Linked DNA regions of Homo sapiens: region 2 is linked to region 1. The links are contacts of gene promoters, found by promoter capture Hi-C in blood cells and fetal thymus (Javierre and others, 2016). All regions are on one chromosome and are shown on one strand. The core of a region is centred on a gene start or on the middle of the fragment in contact, and the rest is flanking DNA. Distances in the headings are between cores, read along the strand shown.

Region 1 (6,888 bases), core at 194-2,693:
CTTGTCTTTTGAGGAGGGGATGTCTCTTTAAAAACAAATTTTCTCGAGAGAACCCTTGTTCTACATAAATAGATGACCACTCTCAGAAGCCAAGGAAGCAGTTGTTTCAGGTTCTTTCAATTTTCTTTCCAATCTCAACCGTCAGTGCACGGAGCTGTCCAAGGTTTTTATTTCTTGCCCTTCCCGTTCCTGACCCCTTTAATCATCACACAAACAGGCAGCAGAGACAAAGTAATGAAGAACACCAACTCTGGAGTCAAACAAACTGGGTTAGAGTCCCAGAGCCAGCATTCAACAGTTGTGTGATCTCGATCAAATCCTGTAACCTCTCTGGGCTTCAGTTTCTTCATCTATCAAAACAAGGATGACAGTAACAGTACCTAACCCATAGATTATCATGAGGATTTAATCAGTTACTCTTTGTAAAAGAGTTTATTACAATGCCTGGCAAATAGCAAAAAAGGAATTTTGGGGTTCCCTAGTTTCTACCATAAAAGAATTGTAGACATGGGTTATGTTGCTACTTAACAGTTTTGCTCTTGTAAATATTGCTCTGGCAATCAATACAGGATGGAGAGCAGGAGGAAGTAGAAAGAATGCTCGCAGAACTATGACTTAGGGTGTCTAGTCCTGGCTCTGCCATTAATCAGTTGTGTGACCCTTGCTAAGTTAACTGACCCCTCTGAACTCAGTTTTTTTTTTCTCTCTCTGTAAAAGGAAGGGCTTAAACTTCAGTAAATAACCGGTATGTTTTATTTAGTATTTTGCGAATCCCATTTCCAACTCTACGTTCAATCCAGTGACGGTATTTCTAGTTTATAAACTAGAAAAATAATCTTTGGCATCTGAGGGTCACAGCCGAGAGTATCTCCCTAGCAGGAGATTAGGGAGCCAGTGACAAAGTGGCACCAGGGGAACCGATGTATGCCAGGAATCCAGACAGAGGGTGACATTAGCACTTCTTTCTGCAGAACCTAAACCCTGCCCGACTCACCCGGAGGAGCTGTCACGGTGGTTTGCTGGAAACCCCCTTTCTGTTGGGAGGATTACTGGGTCACGGTTTCCCAAGGACATGGAAACCCTTGCTGAAGCGCTGGAACCGCTCGGCACGAGGCGTACGTCGGTGGGAGCTGTGTCAGCCCGCTTTCGGCCGTGTAGCTGCTCCCATCCAGACTCTAGAAGGGGTCCTCTTTGCGTCAGGCCCAATCACCCCCCTCCCCGAGCGACTGCACTGGGTGTCCCTGCGCCGCGCGTCCCCTCCCTCTCGCCCCTCCCTCCTGGCTGCCATAGAAACCAGCTTACAAGGTCCAGGCCGGCGTCCGGGTGCACTACAGGCCCCCCGTCCCTCCTTCCCCACGCCAGCCCCTCGCTCCGGATTGGTCCTTCAGGAAACGCTGTGGGGCGTCTCGGTCCCCGCTGCGGAGCCGGCCTAGGCCGGAGGGCGGGGTTTGCCCTGGGCCGCTGCCGGTCAGGTCGGCCGCCCCTGACAGCTCCGGGAGCCTCAAGCGCGACAGCGGCGCCCTCACCTCGGGACATCCACACACCGACCGCTCCTGCTCCAGAGGCAACAACCCAGCGCGCCTAGCCTGGCGCCGTGCAGCGAAGCCCAAGAGCTGGCCTCGCCACGAAGGTAAGCGAGGGGCTGGGGGACTCGCCGCCAGCACCCCCACCCCGCCACCCTTCCTCTGCTAGGCTGCAGACCTGGGTGGCTGAGGAGGAGGCGCCTCTCCTCCCCGCGACCCAAGGAAGAAAGGAAGCCCTGCCACGGGGTGTCTGCGAAGTGGGGTCAGAAGAAGGTTAGGCGCTTTCTGGGGCGTACCCCCACACCTGCCCAGGCCGATCCGCAAGCGAGAGGAGGGGGCATTAGAGCCAGGGCGAGAGCGTGCTCGCGCGTGTGTGCCCGTGTCATGTGTGGTGCCCGTGTCATGTGCGGCGCCCATGTCTATGTGCGCGCGTGTGTGCACCCATGTCTCTGTATGGTGTGGACACTCGTGTCTGCGTGCGCGTCCACACGTGAGCCGAGGAGCGCAGCTTAGCGCCTAGCGTTGCGCACAGCGGGTGCGCTGGACCAGAGCCCTAAGGCACCAGACCAAATCTGGAGCGTTTGTTACAAGGGCAGAAGACCGGCGTGATCTCCCCACGCGCGCCGGCCGGTGCTGCTGGTGGAGAGAACTGACATCTAACGCATGTGGCCCAGGAGAACAAAACCTTCCATTGCACCCCACGCCGCGACTCTCCCCAGCGAAAGGTGCTTCTTTTGGAAGACCGCACGAAGTAAGGAAGAGCCTCTTTTCCTCTTCCTGGATATCCCTCCAGGAATATTAGAAGCTCCAGGACTCCTTGATACGACCAGGAAAAGATCGCAACCGGGTCTTTAAAATATCGATTCCAGCCAGCTTCTGCGTGCTTGACACATCTTGGCAGATGGAGAAGTCAAGGCAATAGATAACATGGGCAGCAAAGATTCTGCTATAGCACTTCTTTCCTTTCTGTTTTTTCCTTCCCTCCTTCCCTCCTTTTCCCTCTTCTCCCTCCCTCCTTTCCTCCTCCTCCTCTCCCCTTCTCTTCTCCTCCTCCCTCCCTCCCTTTCTCCCTTTCTCCTCTCTTTTCCCCTTCCCTCCCCTGTTTTCGTCCTCCTGAGTACAGTAGACAAGAGGGCTCTCTGTCTACCCCCCCTCCCCCACCCCATTCCTCATCCCGTTTCAAAATAAGAGCGAATGAATCACATTCTAAGCTCTTACCCGTGCAGTTCTGACAAGTTTGGAAATTACACAAATCGCGTTTGCAATTGAGGCCGCGGGAATCCAAAAGGGAAACAAACGAAACCAGATGAAAAAAAGTGATTCCAAGTCAAGATTTCAAATGGAAATCTAAGGTGAATATTTGTTTATGGTAATAAGATTTTTTTTAATGTTTGAAAAGTATGTATCACACTAGCTTGCATCATCAGTATTCAATGTGATTCACAGAACCGCTTCAAAAGATGGTTTCTGTTAGTGTTGCAACAGCACTTCTAATTCTGGTTGTCATGGTTACTGAAGAAGTCGCCCTGCTCTATTGAGAGGCTGTCTAGTTAGAAGCAGGAACTGTTCTCCAGAGGACCTTCTCTTGTACCCTCGTTGTCACCATGGTAATAATTGAGTTTATGAAAATGTACTTACTTTTTCCCTTAAAGTACTAAAATCCCAAGGCATGTTGTTGTTTTTTTTATTTTATTTTTTCAGAGTTTGCAGTCCATGCAACACAGCTTTCCGCTCAGACAAATGAGAGTAAACACTGCCCTCCAGCAAGTTAAATGGCCCCAAATAGTCATGCTGCCCAGCTCTCTTCCCACAGCTCACTGCACGAACAGAGGACAGAGGAGGGTGTTAGATGTTCCACGAATCCTGGCCTGAGCCCAGATCGCCCTCGCCATTTAGCATTTACATTTGGAAGCCTAATTAGCTTTCTAATTAGGAGATGGGAGAATGTAGGGGGGGATTCCTGCGAGAGGCTAGTGGGGAAAAAGCTGAATCCAACTCCCCATGGACTGGTGTTTGGTGTGCCATTGAATTTGCCTAGTAAACCCTCATGGGTTTATTTTTAGCTGGACCACTGTTAAATGGTAAGCCTGGAAAAACCTTCAGAGAAGCCTCCTTCTGTGTTAGGAAAAAATGTGGATTGGATATTTGGTTTGAGGTGTGTGCTTTTTTTCTAACTACATTTAAAATAAAGACAGGTTTATATGAAATCTGAATTCCCCAGTAATAACTACAGATAGGTTATAGAGCCCTTTATATTCTTGGTTTAACCCTAGGTTTTTAGTTGAAAAGGTTTAATTTGGGGCAAGCAGTGGTACCATTTCAAATACTTTTATCAGCAAATGTTGGTTTCTTTAAAGAACCGTAATTCATTACACATCCACGATTTCTGAGCTTCAAATTCTAACATTGATAGCATGTGATTAGACAGCTTGAAGCCCTCAGACTTACAGTTTTGTTTTATTTTCTTTTCGTTTTTAGAGACTGGGTCTCGCCATGTTGCCCAGGCATGTCTCAAACTCCTGGGCTCAAGGGATCTTCCTGCCTCAGCCTCCTGAGGAGCTGGGACTACAGGTGCATGACAGACTTATCATACATTTTTAAAAAAACAAAAGCAAAGATTTTTGTCTTAGTAGGTTAATGTTTTTGTCACATATATAGTTTCATTTTGAGAAACTTAAAAATTAAAATATAACATTAAATCCAACTTCATTCTTTGAATCTGATCACTGTATTTCTCTAGGGATTAAAGAGTTTTAATTCATTGGTTGATTTTCTTTCACTTGTTGAAAGGACAAACTGTTCATAAAATTTGTTTCATTTTGTATTTTGTCATTTCCTATTGTCATTCTAGAAAAAGGTCTCTAGAATTGAAGTTTTAATTTTCAGGAGAAGAAGAAAATATTCAAATTGCTTATGAAGATAATAGTCTACAACTTGAATTAACCACATCATAGTTCTTAAATTACTTTCTCTCAAGAACTTCAAGGTTAGCTTAGCCATTATTATACAGCATCCTGAGGAATATTAATCAGTTTTACAGATGGACAAGTTGTGTTCAAAAGCCAAGTGATAGGTCGGTGCCGTGGCTCAGGCCTGTAATCCCAATACTTTGGGAGGCTGAAGCAGAAGGACTGCTTGAGCCCAGGAGTTCGAGACCAGCCTGGGCAACATGGTGAGACCTTGTCTCTATAAAAATTTTTTAAAAATTAGCTGGGTGTGGTGGTGCATGCCTGTAGTCCCAGCTACTGGGGAGACTGAGGGAGGAGGATTGCTTGAGCCTGGGAGGTTCAAGGCTGCAGTGAGCTGTGATTATGCCACTGCATTCCATCCTGGGAGACACAGAAAGACTCTGAATCCAAAAAAAAAAAAAAAAAAAGTGATTTCAGCTAACCACTTGGAAAATCGAGACAAAAATCTAAATTGTCTGACATGAGCATTATGAATATGAGCATTAGCCAAGACTTAAGAGAAATTCAGGGCATGGATAGCGGGAAGAATTTAAGATTAGAGAGCAAAATAAAACTGTTAAGGGGAAAAAACTGTAAGGAGAAAGCAGATTAATAGAAAGAAAGTAAAAGCGAAAACATCAAGTGAAAAGAGGGTTGCACAGAAGGAAAACGAAGTTGCAGAATAGGAAACTAAGAAGAACTCCACTCTTCATCTTCCACAGAGAACACTGATGGTTTTCCAGAAAGCAGTCAGTACCCTATTTAGCAAAATCGTGTGACTTGGGAGGCCTTAGCGGCAGATCTTAGTTCATTCTGACTCCCTGCCACCCATCCAAGTGGTGTGGGCTGAGGCAGCTGTCTTTTCGGGTCTCCTGAACTAGCTGCTCATTAGATCTTTTCTCCCTAATCCTAAAGCCATCAAGAAGCTTTCTGTGTCTCTATTTGTTGGAATTATCTAGTTGGGATAATATATGGATACACTTGATTACATAATTGCACTGAAATTTTTCTTTTTACTTTAAAAAATTGTTCAAATTGTTATCATCACAATGCATTCACCTAATTTTATGAGAGTATATTAAAAGCTTATAACTGGCTGGGCGCGGTGGCTTACGCCTGTAATCCCAGCACTTTGGGAGGCCGAGGTGGGTGGATCATGAGGTCAGGAGATCGAGACCATCCTGGCTAACACAGTGAAACCCTGTCTCTACTAAATATACAAAAAAAAAAAAATTAGCCAGGTGTGGTGGTGGGCGCCTGTAGTCCCAGCTACTCGGGAGGCTGAGGCAGGAGAATGGCTTGAGCCTGAGAGATGGAGCTTGTAGTGAGCCGAGATCGCGCCACTGCACTCCAGCCTGGGCGACAGAGCGAGACTCTGTCTCAAAAATAAATAAATAAATAAATAAAAAATAAAAGCTTATAACTAAAACAACAGTCCCAGTCTCCAGAGGCAATCATTTTGAACTCTTGGCTGTTTGATCACTTACCTCCCTATGTCCAAATAATTAGCTTATGTTGCTGTTTTTTCTTTTTTTCTTGAGACAGGTTCTCACACTGTTGCCCAGGGTAGAGTACAGTGGTGTGATCATGGCTCACTGCAGCCTTAAATTCCTGAGTTCAAGCAATCCTTCCCCCTCAACCTCTTGAGTAGCTGGGGCTATAGGTGCACGCTACCATGCCCATGCCCAGCTTTTTTTTTTTTTTTTTTTTTTTGGTAAAGACAAGGTTTCACTATGTTGCCCAGCCTGGTCTCAAACTCCTGGGCTCAAGCAATCCTCTCACTTTGGCCTCCCAAAGTGCTGGGATTACAAGCATGAGCCACCATGCCTGGCCACTGGTTCTTGATTTATCAATTTTGGACAGAATCTATTGACTTATTTATTTTTATGTTTTATTTAGAGGCAGGATCTCACTCACCTAGACTACAGTGCAGTGGTACAATCATAGCTCACTGCAGCCTAGAACTTCTGGGCACAAGTGATCCTCTCATTTCAGACTCCAGAGTAGCTGGGACTACAGGCATGCACCATCATGTCCAGCTAAGTTTTTTATTTTTGTAGAGTTGTCGGTGGTAGGGGGGGCGGGCCTCTCTATGTTGCCCAGGCTGGTCTTGAACTCCTGGCCTCAAGCCATCCTTCTGCCTTGGCCTCCCAAAGTGCTGGGATTACAGGCGTGAGCCACCACGCCTGGCCAAATTAGTTCTATTCTTGGCTAATAAAATACACCTTAGTCATTTTTAATCATGAAGATTTTTAAAGAGCCTTTTAAACTTTTTGGAAATTTGAAATGTAGCCAAATACTCCCTCAGATGTAATCAACAGCGCCAGCCCTTGAGCTCCTACAGAACACAGAGGTACTGATTTTTCCACCCTTTATACTGCCTCAATTTCCATGATCCATACTCCATACCCCCTCTC
Region 2 (7,036 bases), core at 1,089-3,588, 1.3 Mb before region 1:
CAATCATGTGACTCAAGCTACAAAAAGAGGGAACAGAGGCCAGAAGGGAGTTAAAAAGATTGGGAGAAAATGTTGCCAAAAGGTTTTCTAGATGAAAGATCTCTTATGGTATGAGATCATGAGAGAAGATGCAGTCAGAGATTGGGCTCTAGAGTTTAAGATTTCTGAGATCCACAGCATGGCTTGCTGGCTACAAGGACATTGGACTGTCTTAGGATTATGGCAGGATTTAGGGTAAAGATAAATAATTTAACCCCAGATTCACTGGCTTTACTGGATATGAGCAAGGAATCCAGAAGTGTAGTCAGGGAGCTTGACCTCATAGCCGATAAAGCATGGATTAATAGGTGTTCGCTGGACCAAATTTCCATCTAATTTTGAAAATATGGAGGCATCTTGTAATGTTGGAGCAAAAGTTACAGGAAGTAGAGTGAAAGGTGGGAGGAGGGTGGTTGTTGGAAAGAATCTTGGGAGAGGGAGTTCAGGATAGTAAGGAGATGAAGGCATGAAAGCAGGTTGGAGACTGTAAAGCTTCCACTGTATGAAGGCTGTAGGGCTAAGAAATATGCTTATAATTGACAGACTTCAAAGGATTTAACCTGGGCATAAGTTGTGTTTTTTGTTGCTGTTGTTGTTTTTGAGACAAGGTCTCACTCTATGTGTAGGCTAAGGTGCAGTGGTACCATCTTAGCTCACTGCAGCCTCAAACTTCTGGGATCAAGCAATCCTACCACCTTAGCTTCCCAGGTAGCTAGGTCTACAGGCATGTGCCACCACACTGGCTAATTTTTTAATTTTCTGTTTTGACAAATTCTTGCTATGTTGCCCAGGCTGGTCTAGAACTCTAGGGCTCGAGCAATTATCTCACCTCGTCCTGCCAAAATGCTGGGATTACAGGCAGAAGCCACCATGCCCATTCATAAATTGTTTTAAGCCGGAGACAATTATATTATTAAAGCCAATAAAGTAAAAGGAGGAAACTTTCTAGTTTGAATACAAGAAAGAGTATTTAATTCAGGCAGTTCTCTGATATTGTATTACATGACCTCTTTATTTTTATCAATTAATTGAAGATACAAACTAAAATTTATAAATGTTGTGCATGGCCAAACTACATTAATGCTGTCTTTAAATCTCCAAAGTTAATATGATCAACATTGTGCAATGGAATGGAGAGAACTTTGACTTCAACAGATTAAGAATTTAGAAAGTAGGTGATGGAGTTTTCTTGTTAATAGGCACAAAGCAGTGTTCTTGGGCTTTAACTTTGTGCTAAATTAATGGCCAATTCCTACTGATTTTACCTCTTAATAATATTTATTTTATCATGTCCCTCTTGCCCTCCTATGCTGATACTATCCTTGTTTAGGCCATCATCCTCTCTCTCCCGGATTACTTTAAAAGCCTCCCCACTGGTCTCCCTCTCTTTAGACTTAAACCTACTAGTTCATCTTCCTTACCACCAGTGTATCTTTCAGACATCTAACCTTGTCATTATCCTACTGAAAGCCATTCCAGTCTCTCCACTGTCTACAGCTGAGAGTACAAACTCTTTATCATGGCATCACATCGGCTCTATAATGTGTCCCCTATCAACTTTTTCAATTTAACTTTTTTCCTTGCTGCCAGTAGGTTCCCATCTAATCAAATGCAGTATATCCTATTTTTTAAAACAGTAATCCTCCATTAAAAAAATTACTAGATATCTGTCTAAAGTATATGCCTGTTCTGTGCTTGACAAATTAGTTTCAGAGTAATTAATCTTAAATGGGTTGGCATTTATACATGGTTATTCCACTATTGACAACTGGATTATTTTAGGAATTACATACAGTTATATTGGAGCTACAACCTTTGAATTTGTGCATAGGAATTGCTATGGATGAAGTTTCAGATGCCCAGTATGGGACACATTTTTTAACAGCTTTATTGAGATATAATTCACATCCCATATAACTCATTCATTTAAAGTATACATTTCAATGGTTTTAGGATATTCACATATATTGCAACAATCACAATTTTATTTTATTTTTTATTATTTTTTAATTTTTCACATCCTCATGAGGCATCTGACATCACCACAATTTCAGAATATCTTACCCTCTCCTCAAAAAAACCCTGTGTCCTTTAGCCATCATCTTCGTATACCCCATCTACCTTAACGCAGAGCAAGCATTAATCTACTCTCTGTCTCTATGGAATTTGCATATCATGGGCATCTAATATAAATGGAATCATATGACATGGTCTCTTGTGTATGGCTTTTTCACATACCATAATGTATTTAATATTTAGATTCTAGCATGTGTCAGTACTTCATTTGTATAACAATAATATTTTATTGTATGGTTATATCACATTTTGCTTCTCAGTTCATTGACATTGAGGTTGTTTCCAACTTTTGGCTATTATGAATAATACTGCCATGAACATTTGTGTAAAAATTTTTGTGTAGCTATATATTTGAATATCTCTTCAGTATATAGCTAGGAATGGAATTGCTGCATGTCTGAGTCTGGGTTGCTATAACAAAATACAATAAACTGGGTGGTTTACAAAAAGCCCAGAAATTTGTTTCTCACAGTTTTGGAGGCTGGAAAGCCTAAGATCAAGGCATTGGCAGATTCCATGTCTGGTTAGGGCCCTCTTATTAGACAATCGTCTTTTATCTGTGTCCTCACATAGTGGAGAGTTTGAGAGATCTCTCTGAGGCCTCTTTTATAATCCTATTCATGGGGGCTCCACCCTGGTGACCTAGTCACCTCCAAATGCCACACTTCTTAACACTATCATCTTGGGGATTAGGATTTCAACATATGAATCTGCTTCAGGGCCAGTGGGGGCACATAAACATTCAACCCATTGCACTGGGTCATATGATTACTCTATAACTAACGTTTTGAGGAACTTCCAGCTGTTTTTCAAAATGGCTGCACCATTTTACCCCACCAGCAGTGTATTAGAGTTCCAATTTCTCCACATTGTTGTCAACGTGTTTTTTTACCTGAGTTTTTTATTATAGCCATCCTAGTGGATATGAAGTGGTATCTTATTGTGGTCTTGATTTGCATTTCCCTAACGCCTAATGATGTTAAACGTCGTTCCATGTGCAAATTGGCTATTTTTTTTTTTCAATGGAGAACTACTTATTCAAATCCTCTGCATGTTTTTAATTGGATTATTATATTTCTACTATTTCATTGTAGGAATTCCTTGCATATTCTGGATACTAGTCTCTTATCATGTATATGCTTTGCAAATATTTTCTCCTATTCTGCAAGTTGTCTTTTTACTTTCTTGATAGTGTCCTTTGAAGCACTGAAGTTCTTAATTTTTAGTAAGTTTAATTTATCTATGTTTTCTTTTGTTGCTGCTTTTTTTTTCTTGGTGTCATAGCTAGGAAACCATTTATGCTATTATTTCTTCAAATATTCTTTTGACTTAGCTGCCACTTTGATTTCAGATTTCTTACTGCCAGAGCTGTGAGCAAATAAATTTCTGTTGTTTTTAAGCAACATAGTTTGTGGTATTTTTTTTTTCTTACAGCAGCCACAAGAAACTACCTCTGTTGGCCTCATCACCTTCTCTTTCTCATTTTTCCCCAAGGAAGAAATAGGTCATCTGATTGAGTGTGGCTCTAGGGAGTATCCCTTCATTCCCCTCCCCTACCTGCCAGTGGCTGTCATCAATCTGTGGTATTCCTTGGTGCATCACTCTAATCATTGCCTCCATCTTATATCTGTGTCTTCTCTTCTGTCCCTTCTAAAGATATTTGCCATTGGATTTAGGACTCACCTAGATAATCCAGGATGATCTTATTTCAAGATAATTAAATTAGTTACATCTGCAAAGACCCTTTTCCTATATAAGGCCACATCCACAGGTTCTGGGGTTTACGACATGGACATATCTTTTTGGAGGCCACCATTCAACCACCGCAATTACTCTCATGGTGGTCTCTCCATATGGAAACATGGGGGAAGGGAGAAAAGTTCTACTTTAACTTATGCTTAGTGTAGCATTTGTAAAAAATAAAAGAAAATTAAAAAATTAAAAGTCATCTATATGTGCACCCATTGTATGAGTTTATTATTCATAATTAATATTCTCTCAAATTTTGGATTCATAAACCCAGATTAAAACAAGCTTGTCTGGCACCGTGGCTCACACCTGTAATCCCAACACTTTTGTAGGCTGAGGCAGGTGGAACTCTTGAGCTCAGGAGTTTGAGACCAGCCTGGGCAACATGTCGAAACCCCATATTTACAAAAAAACACAAAACTTAGCCAGGCATTGTGGCATGCACCTGTAGTCTCAACAATTTAGGAGCTGAGGTGGGGGGATCACTTGGACCTGGGAGGCAGAGCCAAGATCACTCCAGTGCACTCCATCTTGGGTGACAGAGTGAGACTCTGTCTCAACAAAAACAAAAAGAAAAATATAAACCAAAACTAAAGCTCTACTCTGTGTACTGTTATACTTATTTTTATTTAATAAGAAATTATGATAATCTTAATCTGTCAATAGATATGGAGATAAAACATAATTTTTAATGCCTACAGCATATCCTGCTGCATAAATATACCAAAACTTATTGAATCAATCTCCTCTGACAGATATCTGTGTTATTTCCAAATGTTCACAATTATGAACAAAATTGTGGTGAACCTCCTTGTTTTATTGAGCTTTACACACTTCTCCAGCTGTTGTCTTAGGATAAATAACTGGATCAGTTATTTTTAAAGGCTTTAATACATAATTCATCCTTCAGTAGTTTGTATAAAAGTATATTCCTAACAACAGTGTATGAGACTGAGTGCTTAAGATTTTGGGTATTACCCATCTTTTTTTTTTTTTTTTTTTTTTTTTTTGAGACGGAGTCTCGTTCTATCACCCAGGCTGGAGTGCAGTGGCGGGATCTCGGCTCACTGCAAGCTCCGCCTCCCGGGTTCACGCCATTCTCCTGCCTCAGCCTCCCAAGTAGCTGGGACTACAGGCGCCCGCCACTACGCCCGGCTAATTTTTTTGTATTTTTAGTAGAGACGGGGTTTCACCGTTTTAGCCGGGATGGTCTCGATCTCCTGACCTCGTGATCCGCCCGCCTCGGCCTCCCAAAGTGCTGGGATTACAGGCGTGAGCCACCGCGCCCGGCCTACCCATCTTTTAAATTGAGTATATTCTAGTTAGGATTTTTGCAAATATATTCATGATATTTGTTTGTTGTGTCTCCTTTTGTATCATTTTTGTCACAAAGCTTGGTGTTTACCATAGAGGGCTAAAAATTAGAATCACACTCATAGCTAGAGAGAAATACTTTATTAGGAGCCTGGTAAATATGAAAGAGTCTTAACGTCAGGACTCAGTGCTCCTTGGTAGTTCAAACAGACAAGACTGGCTTAGCCTGATAGAGCCAGAAGAAATGTAGCAGAGTCTGGAGAGATTGAGCAAAGATGGCAAGGAAGAAGTTATGGGGGTAAGGGTGATTTTATTATGTTTCAATATTTTACAGTTCACTTAAACTTTGAACTAAATAAAATGCATTAACAAACATGAAGTTTCTACATTTGACCACGACATTAACTAGGGAAAGAGAACATAAAGGAAAACAAGAAAAAGACTTTGAAGTATTGGAAACACACTCCACTAAAATGTTTTTATTTTTTATTTTTATTTATTTATGTTTTGGGACAGAGTCTCTCTCTGTAACCCAGACAGGAGTGCAGTGGTGCGATCTCGGTTCACTGAAATGGCCACCTCCTGGGTTCAAGCAATTCTCCTGCCTCAGCCTCCTGAGCAGCTGTCACTGCAGTCATGTGCCACCATGCCTGGCTAATTTTTTTGTATTTTTAGTAGAGAAGGGGTTTCACTATGTTGGCCAGGCTGGTTTTGAACCCCTGACCTCAGGTGATCTGCCTGCCTACATCTCCCAAAGTGCTGGGATTACAGGCATGAGCCATTATACCTGGCCTAAAATGTTTTCAATAGCCACATTTATGGAGAGGGAACAGATAAAGCTGTGGTTGTAATAAAAGGGCCTTTTGAATATTTGACTCTAAATGTTTATTTTAAAAAGGAACCCTTGATTCAAATGGCGATCCAAGATCACTTCGAAATCATGAGCAAGATCTCCCAGACCCAAATCTCATGGCTAGAAAATGGATGACCTGATTACATAGATCCTAAGATGTCTTTTATAAAAGCCTGAGAAGAACAGTGGACCTGAGAGTAAAACACTTCTGCAGAGATAATTTGTAGATCCACAGTCAAAATATTTCAGCTGTGCCTTTGTCTGTTGCCCACATGTCCAGGTAATTCTTTTAAGTAGTTTAAGAATGGTAAATTACACATTTTCTAGGAGACTGAAAATTCCTAATCAAAGGTTAATTATTTTTTGAAAATTATTTTTTGAAAAGTTTAGTAAAATCTTCTGAAGGCTTCATTTAGTTCTACATCTTGTAGAAGATTCAGAAGGCATCAGGTGTAACCTTCTGCTCTTTTCTCTATCCATTGCTGGCTCCCTACTTTCATTTTGAATTTATCCCTATTTCCCTATTTTTCCCCCTTTGTGTACAGATACGATCATTCTCCACCCTACCTTCCAGCACTTGCCCCTCTTCAACTACCACCTTCTCCATCCCTTGTTGAGAAAGCCTTCTCTCAACTTCTTGTTTATACTTAGATTCTTTTTTTCCTCACCTACAATTCCCACACTATTGAATAATTGTCTACTCCCACAGACCACATCATATCCCCTTGCCATCTTGCTTGTTGACAAGAGTGCATATGTGCCAGGCACTGTATGAGGCACCAAGGACACAAAATACATGATTCCTGTCCTCTATATTTAGGGTGAATTGTCAGAAGAAACTGGTATTACAAAGGTCAGTTAGAGAGTCATTGTGGTCAATCACTTATAAATCACAATACACTTTTTCTCTATTTTTAGTATTTTTCTATTACATATAAAAAACTACCTTCCATGAGAAACAATAGGATGGAGATTATTCAAGATATAGTGTGTCAAACTGAGAAA

Evidence for each region. Contacts are between HindIII fragments. The CHiCAGO score rates a contact against its expected background, and 5 or more counts as called.
Region 2: a fragment that was not itself captured here is called in contact with the fragment with the promoter of NIM1K in region 1 in 1 of 17 cell types (monocytes); the score reaches 5.6 in monocytes.

The regions. Positions count from the first base shown.
Region 1 is chr5:43,190,782-43,197,669 of GRCh38, forward strand. NIM1K (NIM1 serine/threonine protein kinase) reads left to right here and starts at 1,444. Exons shown (of 4, transcript NM_153361.4): 1 at 1,444-1,630. RefSeq lists a silencer at 1,285-1,424 and an enhancer at 1,760-2,469. The HindIII fragment of the contact is 11,127 bases long and covers 1-5,395 here.
Region 2 is chr5:41,896,407-41,903,442 of GRCh38, forward strand. No RefSeq gene overlaps it. Among named protein-coding and RNA genes, the nearest start is that of RIMOC1, 4.4 kb to the right of the region's middle. The HindIII fragment of the contact is 3,618 bases long and covers 530-4,147 here.